5 separate regions of the Homo sapiens genome follow, and all the other regions are linked to region 3. The links are contacts of gene promoters, found by promoter capture Hi-C in blood cells and fetal thymus (Javierre and others, 2016). All regions are on one chromosome and are shown on one strand. The core of a region is centred on a gene start or on the middle of the fragment in contact, and the rest is flanking DNA. Distances in the headings are between cores, read along the strand shown. Region 1 overlaps FAM81A (family with sequence similarity 81 member A). Region 2 holds the start of FAM81A (family with sequence similarity 81 member A). Region 3 holds the start of RNF111 (ring finger protein 111). Region 4 overlaps FAM81A (family with sequence similarity 81 member A). Region 5 has its middle 21 kb from the start of FAM81A.

Evidence for each region. The method cuts DNA at HindIII sites, captures the fragments that hold promoters and counts their contacts. A CHiCAGO score of 5 or more calls a contact.
Region 1: a fragment that was not itself captured here is called in contact with the fragment with the promoter of RNF111 in region 3 in 3 of 17 cell types (M2 macrophages, endothelial precursors and naive B cells); the score reaches 6.9 in M2 macrophages.
Region 2: a fragment that was not itself captured here is called in contact with the fragment with the promoter of RNF111 in region 3 in 4 of 17 cell types (endothelial precursors, total B cells, naive CD4 T cells and 1 more); the score reaches 6.8 in endothelial precursors.
Region 4: a fragment that was not itself captured here is called in contact with the fragment with the promoter of RNF111 in region 3 in 13 of 17 cell types (total CD8 T cells, naive CD8 T cells, naive CD4 T cells and 10 more); the score reaches 14.6 in total CD8 T cells.
Region 5: a contact is called between a fragment that was not itself captured here and the fragment with the promoter of RNF111 in region 3, in 3 of 17 cell types (M2 macrophages, naive B cells and total B cells). The highest score is 7.0, in M2 macrophages.

Annotation. Positions count from the first base shown.
Region 1 is chr15:59,457,025-59,459,724 of GRCh38, reverse strand. It overlaps FAM81A (family with sequence similarity 81 member A), which reads right to left. Exons shown (of 9, transcript NM_152450.3): 2 at 1,079-1,175. The coding sequence starts at 1,098. Among named protein-coding and RNA genes, the nearest start is that of FAM81A, 20 kb to the right of the region's middle. The HindIII fragment of the contact is 240 bases long and covers 1,239-1,478 here.
Region 2 is chr15:59,437,883-59,440,582 of GRCh38, reverse strand. It overlaps FAM81A (family with sequence similarity 81 member A), which reads right to left and starts at 2,397. Exons shown (of 9, transcript NM_152450.3): 1 at 2,301-2,397. RefSeq lists a silencer at 2,170-2,699. The HindIII fragment of the contact is 883 bases long and covers 915-1,797 here.
Region 3 is chr15:58,986,336-58,989,035 of GRCh38, reverse strand. RNF111 (ring finger protein 111) reads right to left here and starts at 1,373. Exons shown (of 14, transcript NM_017610.8): 1 at 968-1,373. RefSeq lists a silencer at 490-654. The HindIII fragment of the contact is 2,845 bases long and covers 222-2,700 here.
Region 4 is chr15:59,476,678-59,479,377 of GRCh38, reverse strand. The region is part of intron 3 of FAM81A (family with sequence similarity 81 member A); the gene reads right to left. Among named protein-coding and RNA genes, the nearest start is that of FAM81A, 40 kb to the right of the region's middle. The HindIII fragment of the contact is 190 bases long and covers 1,290-1,479 here.
Region 5 is chr15:59,415,473-59,418,172 of GRCh38, reverse strand. It overlaps a transcript of FAM81A not described here. Among named protein-coding and RNA genes, the nearest start is that of FAM81A, 21 kb to the left of the region's middle. The HindIII fragment of the contact is 1,100 bases long and covers 759-1,858 here.

The sequences.
Region 1 (2,700 bases), core at 109-2,608, 470 kb before region 3:
AGCGGTCTCCATGACTTCCAAGAGCAAGAGGCTGGCAGAGTTGGGTACACCGAGATGTCTCCCCAATATAATCTATGTTATCAAGATCAAGTGCATTAACAAAGTCTCCTAACATGCTCTCCTCCTCCTCCCTCTCTGAAACAGTGGTTACAAACTCAATGCCTACGTGGGTCAGGCAGGCGACATAAATGAGTGAAGCATACTACATATGAGGCAATAGGGAGTGTCAGGGATTTAGAGATCTGGAAAGGGCATTTCCCAGCTAAAGGGAGCCACAGTTCTGCTCCACCCATGAGTGACCATCAGGGATTTCAGGTCCCTTTTTCCAGATGATCTGATATTTCTCAAGAAAAGCTAGCAAATCCCGACTTGTATGTGAAATCGCTTGATTTTAAAATGTTAACGATTCATTTAAAAAGTATTTAAGGCCAGCACAGTGGCTCACACCTGTAATCCCAACACTTTGGGTGGCTGAGGTGGGAGGACTGCTTGAGCCCAGGAGTTTAAGATCAGCCTGGGCAACACAACGAGACCCTATCTCTACAAAAAAAATTATTTAAAAATTAGCTGGGCATGGTGGCACATAACTATAGTCCCAGCTACTCAGGAGGCTAGGTGGGAGATCACCTAAGCCCAGGAGGTCAAGGCTGCAGTGAGCTGTGACTGTGCCACTGCACTCTAGCCTGGGGAACAGAGTGAGACCCTGTCTCCAAAAAAAGTATTTAAGAACATGCTAGGCCAAGCAATGTACTTCATGAGCCAATTTTGGCCGATAGGCCCCTAATCTGCAACTTCTGATTTAAAAAGCTTAACAGGGATGTTAGCCTGAAGCCCCCGGAGTTATATTTCACTCTCAACAGGAAATTCAAGTCTACTGTAGGACTACTGTGAAATCTCTACTTCTTGGGGTCACTGAGTGGTCCACAGTATCCTATAAATTGAAAGCTAGAGGACACAATAGTGTTTCTCTTGCCCTTGAACAAAACCATTCTCCGATAATGTAACAGCCCAAGCTTTGATTTGTAACTATCACACCCACTAGCAGCCCCCATGGGATGAGTGGAAAGGAAAAGTATACCTTAGATGCATATTTTCCATATATTATACCTTTCCTTGGTGACACGAGAAGGAAATACAGTGCTCCGTTGGGCCATTTTCTTTTTAATAATTCACATCTGTTGAAAAAATAAGCACTAAATTATTTAACAGTTTATATCTAGAACTTAACCTCAAAAGCTTATTATTAAGTTGCTAAGTGGATCATAAATTATGTTGAAACACTGATAAGTTATATTATTAAATGTTTTGTATCTTATACATGAAATAAACAGCATATGTTTCCAAATAAGAAGAAAAGCAATCAAGCAAAATCAAAGCTCTTCTGAAATTAATATTGCTAAGCCTTGCAAGACAGACCAACAGGGACTGTACAATGGAGTTTCCTGAAGTTTCCTCACTCCAAATCTGCATCTCAAGCTTGAGAAACCACTTTTAACAGAAACTAGAGTGTTTAATAGGCTTATCCAATCTTATACTTCTCTGTAGAATTTTGCAGGAAACTACCTCAGTAAATTTGATCTCAGAAAACTTTTACTACTAATTCCATGGTAAATGAAGAGCACTTATTTCTAAATTAATCTCAAATAAAACAGCACATGATCAATGTGATCTGATTTGTGGGAAGATATCTATCCACCAAGGGAGTGAGAAAGATATTCCTCATTAGAACTTGAAAACTTTATAATAAGATACAATCATTCATATTTCATCTTGCATATAAGGAACATTTGGTCCCCACAACTCATTAGAAATGTGAAAAACACTAGAGGATGTTTAAAATACTTTATTATTTAGGTTCCTCAATACTGCTATCAATTGCCTTAAAATAATGAATGCCTACTAACTATGATCTGATTCCATAATTAATTCTCATTTAGATGCTGGATTCAGAAAGCATTTCTGATTGAAATCACTGTTTTGGCGTCATCTCTCTAGTGTTTTATTTTTGGAGTTTCAAAATGTGCACATTTCATTTTCTTAGACAAAGAACTTTAAACAAATTACATTTAAGGAAAAAAAAGTCATTCATGCCAAACAAGCTATGGTGCCCAAAGAGTTCTTCAGTGTCAAAGAGAAGCATTTCTGCCATATAGACTACAGTAGCCCTCCCTCATCTGTCAGGGGTACATTCCAAGACCCCCAGTGGATGCCTGAAACCGAAGCCTATATATACTATTCTTTTCTACACATACATACTCATGATTAAGTTTAATTCATAAATTAGGCACAGTGCTCTTGCACTTTGGGGCTATTATGAAGTAAAATAAGGGTTACTTGGTCACAAGCACTGCAATACCCCAACAGTCAATCTGATAACAGAGATGGCTATTAAGTGACTCACAGGGCCAGGTATACATGGTGTGGATATGCTGGACAAGAGGATGATTCCCGTTCTGGGCAGGAGGGAGCAGGATCGCACAAGATTTCATCACACTATTTCAGAACAACACACAATTTAAAACTTATGAATTGTTTATTTCTAGAATTTTTTATTTAATATTTTTGACCATGGTTGACCTTGGATAATGTGGAAAGTGAAACCATCGATAAGGGGGGACTACCGTAAATAAAATCAGGCCAGTGTGGGAAATGCTGTTATTTAGAATCATAGAATCTTTACAGTTTTAAAGTTGTAAGACA
Region 2 (2,700 bases), core at 107-2,606, 450 kb before region 3:
GGAAACTGAGGCTACTGGGATAGATGTTGAGGAACTTCAAGGTCAAAGAATTAAGAGAGCTTCAACACAAAACCCAAAGTCACTGGCAAGAGACAAAGCAGAGAAGAGAATGAAGCTGGCTGCTCACGTTTTTTGTTTGTTTATCCCTTTTTTGGGGCATCAAGTGAAGAGATCCCCACTGTACCTGGGTGTACATCAGAATTGCCCAGAGAGTTCTGTTCCTTCTCTTCATCGTCTCCTGCTGCTCCTCCTTTTGGGGTTTGTTTTTAAAGTAGGGATTTTTAGGTCTTACTCCCCCACCCTGCCCCAGCCCCCAATGATTCTAATTTGGTATATCTGAGAGAGTCTAAAGACCAAGTTTTTCAAAATGTCCCAGGTGATTCTGAGGAGCCCCCAGGTTTGGGAAGCACTGGACCAGAAGATAAGAAGGAGGGTAGGGGCACAAGCAGATAGCACTACCTTCCGAGAGGAGACTTGGTTGGTGATGGTGCATTGGTTTGGAGGCAGCACTAAGGAGAAGCGGAAGAGCATCCCTACTCTGGTGAGACGGTGGAGGACACTAGAGAAGGCTCTTCTGCGGCAAGTTGTTCACTCAGGCTCTGGTGCTCGGGAGAGAAGGTGGGTTCAGCTACATAAAAAATGAAAATGCAAGAGTGTGGCTGCAGGATACAAGAAACAAGACATTTAAAGCCAGGTCGGAGTGACACAGCCTAGTGGCCTGCAGAGAGAGGAGGCTGAATAATGCGCTAATAACGTTTCCAAGCACCATGTAGTGTGGCTCATTAAATGGTTGGTAGGGCTTCATGGTTGAATTCCTGGACACTAAGTATTTTTCTATCCGTATGCTATCAGATTTCTAACATGTAACACATTAAAGGTTATTAAGCCCTCAGGTAAACAAGCTTGCAGAAGCTTATTCATTAGCATTGGAAACTGTGTCTTCCCAACCCACGTTCTTATACAGATGAAATCAGATTCGAATGAAAATCAAGGGTAGCTTTAAGTAGAAAGTCAGAAGGGGCAACCAGGGGTACCTGTGAGAGGGTACGTCCTCCATTCCCCTCCGTGGAAGAGGGAAGTTTATAGACAGTGGATATGGAAGGGGGCCTAAGTGTCCTTTTTAGTACCAGTCAACGCTAAAAATATTATAAGTGCCAAGGAACCCGCCCCCCCCAACACACACACACACACATACACACACGCGCATTCAGTGACAGGGCCCAGAAGGCAGATACAATGTGCAAATCTGGGGATGGTTCTCAATAAAGAATATATTTACTCTACAAACCTCTTATTTTAAAAGCAAGTTGCAAATGTTTGCCCTTGCTTCTGAGAGAGCTGCACTTTTGTGGATTCGAATCATTCTAGCATTATTTCTGGTTACTCCTATGAAATAATTTCCAACACTGCCGTACGCAGACTTTGAGCTGAGGACGAGAGCGCACGCGCACACACGCACACACACACACGCGCGCACACACACACATAAACCTCGTGCACATTGAAGAAATGACTCACTTAATTTGCTGCTGCCTGCCACGATTGGGTTTTGATTTTACCTGTTCAAATACAAAGTTTCCTATTAGATTAACTACAGGAAAGAAGAACTTAGGAGCATTAATCCTGATTTTGTTCATGTCTTTAGGGCACCAAAGAGGTTTTAACCTGTGCATCTTAAGAAGCCATTCTCCGGACCACCGACTGCTTGCTCCATAATCTTCCAGACAACGATAACATTTCTTACCACTTTAGGAGCCAATTAATGGAAACCCCTCCTAGAATAAACATGGTTAAGCTTTGCATCTCCGGTACCTGCAGAACCGTACTTTAGGGCTCTTTCTCAGCTCGCAGTAGGATGGCACAACAGCATTCTGGAACTGCAAAGACCCCCTAGCCTCTCGTTTGAAAGATGAGAAAAAGCGAAGGGGCGGAAGAGCAGATGGTTAACCTACCCAAGGTCACTCACTCTGAGTAGTGGGTCGGCTGACTCGCCTTTACCCCTGGCAATCCGTGCACCACCCCAGCTCCCCCAAACAGTCCCTCCGGGCGTCGGTTGGTTCGCTAGCATGCAGCCCCCGCGAAAATGCAACGCCAGTTGCGCTCTGTGCCCAACTTCAGCCCTTCGCGTCACATGCAGTTAACCCTCTCGCCCGCGGCATGTCACATGGGCCACGCGCAGCTCTCTCTACCCCACGCCTATCTCCTGAGAGGCTGCCCCAAGGTCACCGGCCGTCCCAGAGAGCTCCCGCCGCCCAGCCCCAGAGGCCGCCCGGCCGGGGTTCCCAGAGCGCGGCACTCACCGGCGCGGGGGGTGGGCGCGCCGCGGCTGCCCATGTCCTCGCCGGCGCGGCTGGGTGCGGCGGCCGCTGGCGCTGGCTGAGCAGGGCGCCCGGCTGCGGGCCCGCGCCGCGGGGAGCGCCGTCCAATCAGCGCGCGCCTGCCGCCTGGCCCGGCGCGCGGCCCGGCCGGGTTCGCGGCTCCCGGGGGGCGCGAGCCGCCGCGCGCCGCCGGAGCCGCTTCCGGGCGCGTTGCCTGGACGCGGTTGCCGTGGCAGCCCGAGCTGGAGGCTTTCCCCGCGCACCCGCGCCCAGCCTGGCGGCGCCGCCCCTCCTCCCTCCTCGTTCCCACACCCAAAATAGCCTCTGCTCGTCGCTGCTGTTTCCCACAGAGCTCGCATCCAAGCGCCTTGGAGTTGGCGGG
Region 3 (2,700 bases), core at 124-2,623:
TGGAACCTTAGCTTATGTTTTTCCCAGTTTGTTCTTTTTAGTTCAAGAGGCCCCTAAAACAAGAAAATTATAGATAAAATACCAAATGAAATAAAGTTTAGATTAAGTCACATTCAAAAGCTACAGGAAATCCTACAAAACGTAGTCTATGTCAGCTGGCATCTTACCATTCAAGAGAATTCTAAATTAATGCCGCACATAAATCAAGAAACAGGAAAGCTTACAACAACACAATGGAGTCACCCCACAACACACACACGAACAAATTAAATGAATACCTCATACTTTCTGGTATTTTTTGAATAATCAAAACTTAGGTTGAGAAATACCCATCTGTAAAGATCTATCTACTATAACCTATTTAAGAACTGTTGTAACAAATCTATTTCTGCTGCACTGAACAGATATTCCCACTATAGCACTGACACTGACTCTGATAAATTATCGAAGGACAATAGTAAAAACATCAGTTTCTTTTTAAATGACCAACAAGCCAACTCCATACAAAATCTGACGCGTCTGTATTTCAGCTGTTCCGCGGACTACGTTTCCTTGATCACAGCAGCAGCAGGCGACTCCCTAGCCGTCAGGGCTGACTTAGCGCCCTCCAACTCCCCGGGTCCGGGTTACCTTCATCACTCCATTGTCAAATCGCACTCCCACGCCTCGGTCCTCAGCCCCCATCCTGAGACTCTAGGGAGAGTCGGAAGTGGGAGAGAAATCCCCTCACCCACACTCCCTCACTGTAGGCTGTGGGTGTGTCGGTAGACGAATGCCTTGCCCAAACACAAATCGTCTGCGGAGACCCAGACCCTAAGTCACCACCGAGCCAGAGATAACCGGCCGGTCACCGACCCCAGCCTTCCGCGGCCGCAGCCCTTCCTCTTTCTCCCCTCCAGGCCGGCCCCTCCCCCGTTGCGCGCACGCGCGGCCTCCAATGGATCCCCTCCCCCCCCGTTCCCCTCACCTTAATCATTAGCCACCCTCTTCTCTTCCAGGGTCCGGGAATCACTGACCCAGGAAGGAAGACAGAAATGTAAGGCGTAAAGAGTAATGCGTCGAGAGCCAGCGATCTGCGCCTCAGACGTCGGCCTAATAGGCCCCTAGAGTCAAGAACAGTGTCTGTCACCGCCACCAAAACTGTACGTGCGGCAGCGCCTGGACTCGGCCCAGCTAAGCCGGCGTGGGTTCAGAATGCCTAATTTGGTCCCACAAGAACTCCTTCTCTGAAGCTGCGGGCGTTTCTACGCTGCGCAAACCGAACACCTCCTCGCCGTCGCCGCCACTGCCGCTGCTCCCCTACAGCCGCCGCCGCCGCTTCGCCGCCGCCGCCGCCTAACCAATTCCTCCCCTACCGAGGAGAGCACGACACTAGGGCTCTTTACGACAGTTCGGAAAGTGAGAGCGCAGTAGCCTTCACGCCTCCATTAACATCTGTTTGTTTCTGCGCTTGCTCGATTCCCGTTTCTCACCGTCCCGCCCCCTCGGTCCCGGCCCTCCCCCTTTGTACTGGTTTTATCAGTCTGTTGGCGAACTGAAAGGTGTCACAAAGCTCATTATTTAATTTTCTTTGGTGATTATGCGTTCAACATTTAAGCCAAATCTTGACTACATCTTGGTTCATTTTTTCGTAACTAAAAATTAACCAACTACAGAATTGATACATTTACAGATATACGTAAACAAAAACATCATGGGTTAGTGTCTTTCACAACAAATGATACCCATATCATATGCGCTAATGACATAAAGATCACGGCACCTCACTGTTAAAGTGAATTTGCTTCCGGAATCAGATCAAAAGTGGTCACATATCTCCTGCGAACTCGGGCTGTACAATCGCATAAGCCTCCTTGTTTATTTTATAAAAGTCAGTAGATAACAAATGCGTCATTATATGCATTAGGAGGATAGAGAGAGGATGAGCTTCAGAGTCCATCAGGCAGACTTCCTTTCAAAGTCCAGTGGTGCCACTTAAGAGTTCTCTGATTGATGAGATCCTTATAAATCTTAGTTTCCTCCTCTATAAATTGGGATAACGTATTTACCTCAAAAGGTTCTTGTTAGATTAAATGAGACAATTTATATAATGCTCTGAACATTACTTGCCAATTAAGTGTTCACTAAACATTAATTCCCTCCCTTTGCCATCAACTCATCTTTTTCAATACTTTTTTTGTTCACTCATATTTTCCGTATCATTCAGTAAGCAAATGATTTTGGCCGGGCACGGTGGCTCACGCCTGTAATCCCAGCACTTTGGGAGGCCTAGGCGGGTGGACTACCTGAGATCAGGAGTTCAAGACCAGCCTGGCCAACATGGTGAAACTCCTTCTCCACTAAAAATACAAAAACTAGCTGGGCGTGGTGGCGGACGCCTGTAATCCCAGCTACTCGGCAGGCTGAGGCAGGAGAATCGCTTGAGCCAGGGTGGCCGAGGTTGCAGTGAGCCATGATCAAGCCATTGCACCCCAGCCCGGGTGACAGGGAGACTCCGTCTCCAAGAAAAAAAAAAAAAAGGCTGGGCGCGGTGGCTCACGCCTGTAATCCCAGCACTTTTGGAGGCCAAGGCGGGCGGATCATGAGGTCAGGAGATGGAGACCATCCTGGCTAACACGGTGAAACGCTGTCTCTACTAAAAATACAAAAAATTAGCCGGGCGTAGTGGCGGGCGCCTGTAACCCCAGCTACTCGGGAGGC
Region 4 (2,700 bases), core at 135-2,634, 490 kb before region 3:
CACCACACCCGGCTAATTTTTGTATTTTTAGTAGAGACAGGGTATCACCATATTGGTCAGTCTGGTCTTGAACTCCTGACCTCGTGATCTGCACGCCTCGGCCTCCCAAAAGTGCTGGGATTACAGGCATGAGCCACCGCGCCCGGCCACCATCCTTTCTAAGACAGCCACACAGTCACTCTCCATCACATCCTCTCATCAGAGCACTTGACATCAGCTAACATCACCTTGGTTACTTAGCATTGACTGCCTGTACACCCCACTAAAGTGTGCAGCAGGGCGAAGATCAGAGGCCTGTGTGCTTGGGCCATTACTGCAGCTCCAGTGCCTCTAACAATGCCTGGCTGTTAGTGGGTTAGTGGATTAGTGAGTGATTTATCAATTAATTTAGCTCCATGTTCTAGGATCTGGTCTTCTGAGTTGAAGGCTTAGAGACTATCTCTAGCTGTCCATCCTGTCTTTGGTTTAAGCTGTTATCAATCCCTTTGATTTGAGCTGTTATCAATCTCTGGTTCCCAGACATGATCAGGTCCTCAAAGAGGACTCAGACAAGCTAAAATGTACTGGAGACAGAGCAGACACCAGAACACTAATTTATTCATTTACATTGAAAAACCTCTGTCAACAGAACTGAATAAATATTCGAATTCCATTCAATTTACTGTCTTCTCCCCCGAAGTCAAGGCATACAACACGCCACATCTAGTGGGTAGAATGAAAACAAAATGAATTTGGATGATAATCACCAAAACCCCTCCGCTGATATACCTGTTTCAATAGAACCAGATCACAGAGCTGCAGGCTGAAATTCCCTTTTTCAGTAAAATGCATGAAGTCCAGTAGCCAAAACTCTTTCCTCATTGGCAGTACTGGAAGCACACTGAACCAAGGTCCTGTATGTTAGTCCGACTACATGTTAACATCACTGTCTACGCCCCTGCTTTCCCATGTTAGTAAAGCCCAATGCTGCACTCATCGCTCAAGTTCAAAAACTCCAGTAGTCCTTTTGCAAATTATTAAACTAGCAAACTACGTATGATATATTCAATTAGATGAGGGCTTGATACAGTTTCCCATAACCCAACTAGGTTAAAGCCAACATTCCAAGCCAGAAGGACATCATGAAGTTGAGCACATGGGAACTAAAGTAGGTCCGCAGATTCTAACCAGCCAGGTGGCAGACCCCACTGCATGGTTCCCAAAGGCCAGAGACACAGCTAAAGCCATAAAAAGACATGGGGGTCCAAACTACTACCCCCAGCCATCAAACTGGCATGGAAAGGAAAGCTTACCACCAATAAAAGGACCACGGACTGCTCACCAGGGCTCGGCTTCCAGGGACCGATAACGGCTTAAACCAAAGACAGTATGGATAACCCAGACATGTATAATTCATAGTTGACTATATTACTTCCTCTAAATTTATAATGATGATGATCATTGGTGGAAAGTTTCTGAGGAATAAATAATTGATAAGCTTCTCCATATCACAAGGCAAACCGCTAACAGACACTGTGGATGGAGATGTATTAAAACAATAAATTCTTCCATTCAACATTTATCAAGCACTTACTGTGTATTAGTATACAAGAGTCATCTGTTTTGACACTGGTATCTGCTGAAAGAATATAAGCAATAATTATAGGGTTCTGGAAGGGGCAAGGAGACCCAGAGCTCTTGATTATGAAACATTTATTGAGCTCCTACTATGTCTTAGACATTGGTAGGTGTTGAAAATAGAAATATTAAGACTCTGTTCTAGCTCTTGAGGATCACATAGGGTAATGGTTTGAAAACATATTTTACTTTTTTTCCAGTGTATAACTGTTCAGAGTCACATGACAGAAAATCATAAAGACTTATCTAGGCAAATTTGCCAAGATACAGTGTTAATATATCTCGATTTGACTAGTTCTATCAGGGTCTAGCAGTAAGTTTCACATCTTAAGAATGGCTTCAGCTTTACTTTTGTAATATAAAATCACCTGCAGGGATGATTCTCAAAAATCAAATAACCCAGTAAAATTTTACTGCGTGAACTGAAAAACAGCTATAAACCAGCAATAATAATAATAATAAAAACTCAGGCAATTTACAGAAGATATTCTTCAAGAATCTATAAATAAAAAATACACCTTTTACATCATTGAAATACAATTTAAATATCTTCACACCTCTGTTTTAAAACTGATACTACAAGTATGAGGTTATTTTGTTCTTTGTTTTGTTTTCTGTTTGTTTTTGCTTTTTTTTTTTTTGAGTCAGAGTCTCACTCTGTTGCCCAGGCTGGAGGGCAGTGGCACGATCTCGGCTGACTGTAACCTCCGCCTCCTGGGTTCAAGTGATTCTCCTGCCTCAGCCTCCCAAGTAGCTGGGGTTACAGGCACCTGCCACCACACCCAGCTAATTTTTGTATTTTTAGTAGAGATGGGGTTTCACCATGTTGGCCAGGCTGGTCTTGAACTCCTGATCTCATGATCTGCCCACCTTGGTCTCCCAAAGTGCTGGGATTACAGGTGTGAGCCACCACGCCCGGCCAAGTATCAGTTTTATATTATGCCCACTCTCCCAATTTATTTATTTATTTAGAGATGGAGTCTTGCTCTGTCAGCCAGGCTGGAGTGCAGTGGCATGATCCTGGCTCACTGCAACCTCCACCTCCCAGGTTCAAACAATTCTCCTTCCTCAGCCTCCCAAGTA
Region 5 (2,700 bases), core at 59-2,558, 430 kb before region 3:
TCTAGAAGAGAAGAAAGTGTCAGCTTGTCTTCCCGACAAAGTTAGATAAAAAATCCTATTTTAAAAGGATGAGTTCATATCCTTTGTAGGGATATGGATGAAACTGGAAACCATCATTCTCAGCAAACTATCACAAGGACAGAAAACCAAACACCACTTGTTCTCACTCACAGGTGGGGAATGAACAATGAGAACACTTGGACACAGGAAGGGGAACATCACACACCGGGGCCTGTCGTGGGTTGTGGGGAGGGAGGAGGGATAGCATTAGGAGATAAACCTAATGTAAATGACGAGTTAATGGGTGCAGCACACCAACAGGGCACATGTATACATATGTAACAAACCTGCATGTTGTGCACATGTACCCTAGAACTTTAAAGTATAATAAAAAAAATAAAAGGGATAATCAAGCAAAAAAAATCTTTTTATTTTTATTTATTTATGTATTTATTTTGGAGACAGAGTCTCACTCTGTTGCCCAGGCTGGAGTGTAGTGGCATGATCTGGGCTCACTGAAACCTCTGCCTCCCAGGTTCATGCAATTCTCCTGCCTCAGCTTCCTGAGTAGCTGGGATTACAGGCGTGCACCATTATGCCTGGCTAATTTTTTTTTTTTTTGTATTTTTAGTAGAGACGGGGTTTCACCATGTTGGCCAGGCTGGTCTCGAACTCCTGACCTCAAGTGACCTGTCCACCACGGCCTCCCAAAGTGCTGGGATTACAGGTGTGAGCCAACACATCCAGCCAGAAAAGCTTGTTTTTTTGTTTGTTTGTTTGTTTGTTTGTTTTTAAATAGCTACTTTGATCATAAAGTAAGTTGAACATTTAGAGGTTGGGGAGGCAACATTAAGAAAACGAAGTAAATATAAAAGGGGAGGCGACAGGGTGGTACGGCATGTGACCACTAACTCAGCATCCTCAGGCTCCGAGAGGGACAGAATCAGAATGTGGAGAGCACAGCCTGGGTATTCAGCACGCATCCATCTGGACCTTCAGCAAGCTGAACTCACTTTCTATCTATAGCATCCCTCATTTTGTTTTTCTTTTAAAAATGTATTTCCCAGGATTCTTTCAGGGCAACCACAGAAGTGTCTTAGCTCCTTCCCCATGTCTCCCCCTACCCCAGCCCCCATCATCCTCTTCAGTGATTCTGGGCATAGCACCAGATGCAGACACGACGGCACAAGTCTAGGATGGGGACTCTTTGGCTGCTTACTCGCAGAAAGAACTTTGAAAAACTATGCACCTTCCTGTATATTTTTAGGTTGGCATCTAAAATTTGTCACCATAAGTTCAAATAGTTGCACAAAATGTAATTTCCAGCATAATGATATTTGAAAATAGAATGGTTCCAGCACCCTTTGGAATGATTCCAGTGACCGCTAAGCATGACAGGTATGGGATACCTGCTTCATAGGGTCATTATGCAGACTCAAGGGCTGAATAGAGGCACAGTGCCCGGCACATGATAAATACTTTATCTTTGTCGTATGTGTGGGTGTATAGAGAGAGAGGGAAAGAGACGGCAAGATGTTAGCAGTAAATCTTAGGAGGGATTGTAGCAGATGATGTTGATGCCCCACCCCACATCCCTTCAGCTCCTGTTTGAGTTCACTCACAGCTGTGGTTCACAGTTTCTGCCATGGGAAGACTTGACACCTCAAATGACGCATCTCACGGCTTCTCTGCCAGAGGGCTTTCTCCAGCACAGAGAAGCGTGCAATACTACTGGTTAGGCACAACCTGGAAACTGAGGCAGCTGACTTTCTCAGGGTTGACTCTTAACCAAAGGGGAGAGGAGGCAGTGGACAAAAGCCCCCGTCTCTCCATCCTTTGGCGAGACAAATGGGAAGCTTATCGTGCATGGTTTCCCAGAAGGTCCCCAGGACGGAGCCCCGGTTGCACACAGCGGTGACCACCACAGGAATGCACATATTATTACTGTGTTTTCCTTTCCTGTCCCATGTCCTGCACCCTTTCACTTGTGCTTTCTGGGATCACCTCCCAAATAAATGTCCTGTACCCAAGTTCTCTCAGGATCTCCTTTGAGGGAAACCCAACCAAGTCCAGGAGATATGGGGATTCATTATAGTGCTCTTTCCATTTTTCTGTGGTTTGAAACTTTCCAAAGTAAACATATAAACAGATTTGTTTAAATGTTTTAGAAGAGCAGCCCTACAGTATGTTCAGGGATTGTACCTGGCTGTGTGCTCCAGAACCCAGTCTGTGACCCTCCCAGAGATTCTGTAAACTACTGAGTATCCCTTAATCAGTTCATTTCTGCTTAACAACAAATCATTGATATTGAATGGTTTTAGTAGCAAGAGGTATAGGAGAGTGGTTCTGAATGTGGAATCCTTCCATCACTCAAGAGCAGCTAACTCCTCTCAGCCTCTGTATTATTCTTTTTGCTGTCATTAAATAAAAAATCATGAACTTAGTGGCTTAAAGCAGCACAAACTTATTATCTTACGGTTCTGCAGGTCAGGGGTCTAAGATAGGCCTCACTGGGCTAAAATCAAAATGTATGTAGAGCTGCATTCTTTTTAGAGGCTCTAGAAAAAGTTTAGTTTCCTTGCCTCTGCCAGCTTCTAGAGGCTGCCTGCATTCTTTGGCACATGACAGAAGATCAAGTCCTTTCAACGTAGCATCTCTCCAAGCCTCTCGTCTGCCTCCCTGTTCCACTTTTAAGCACTC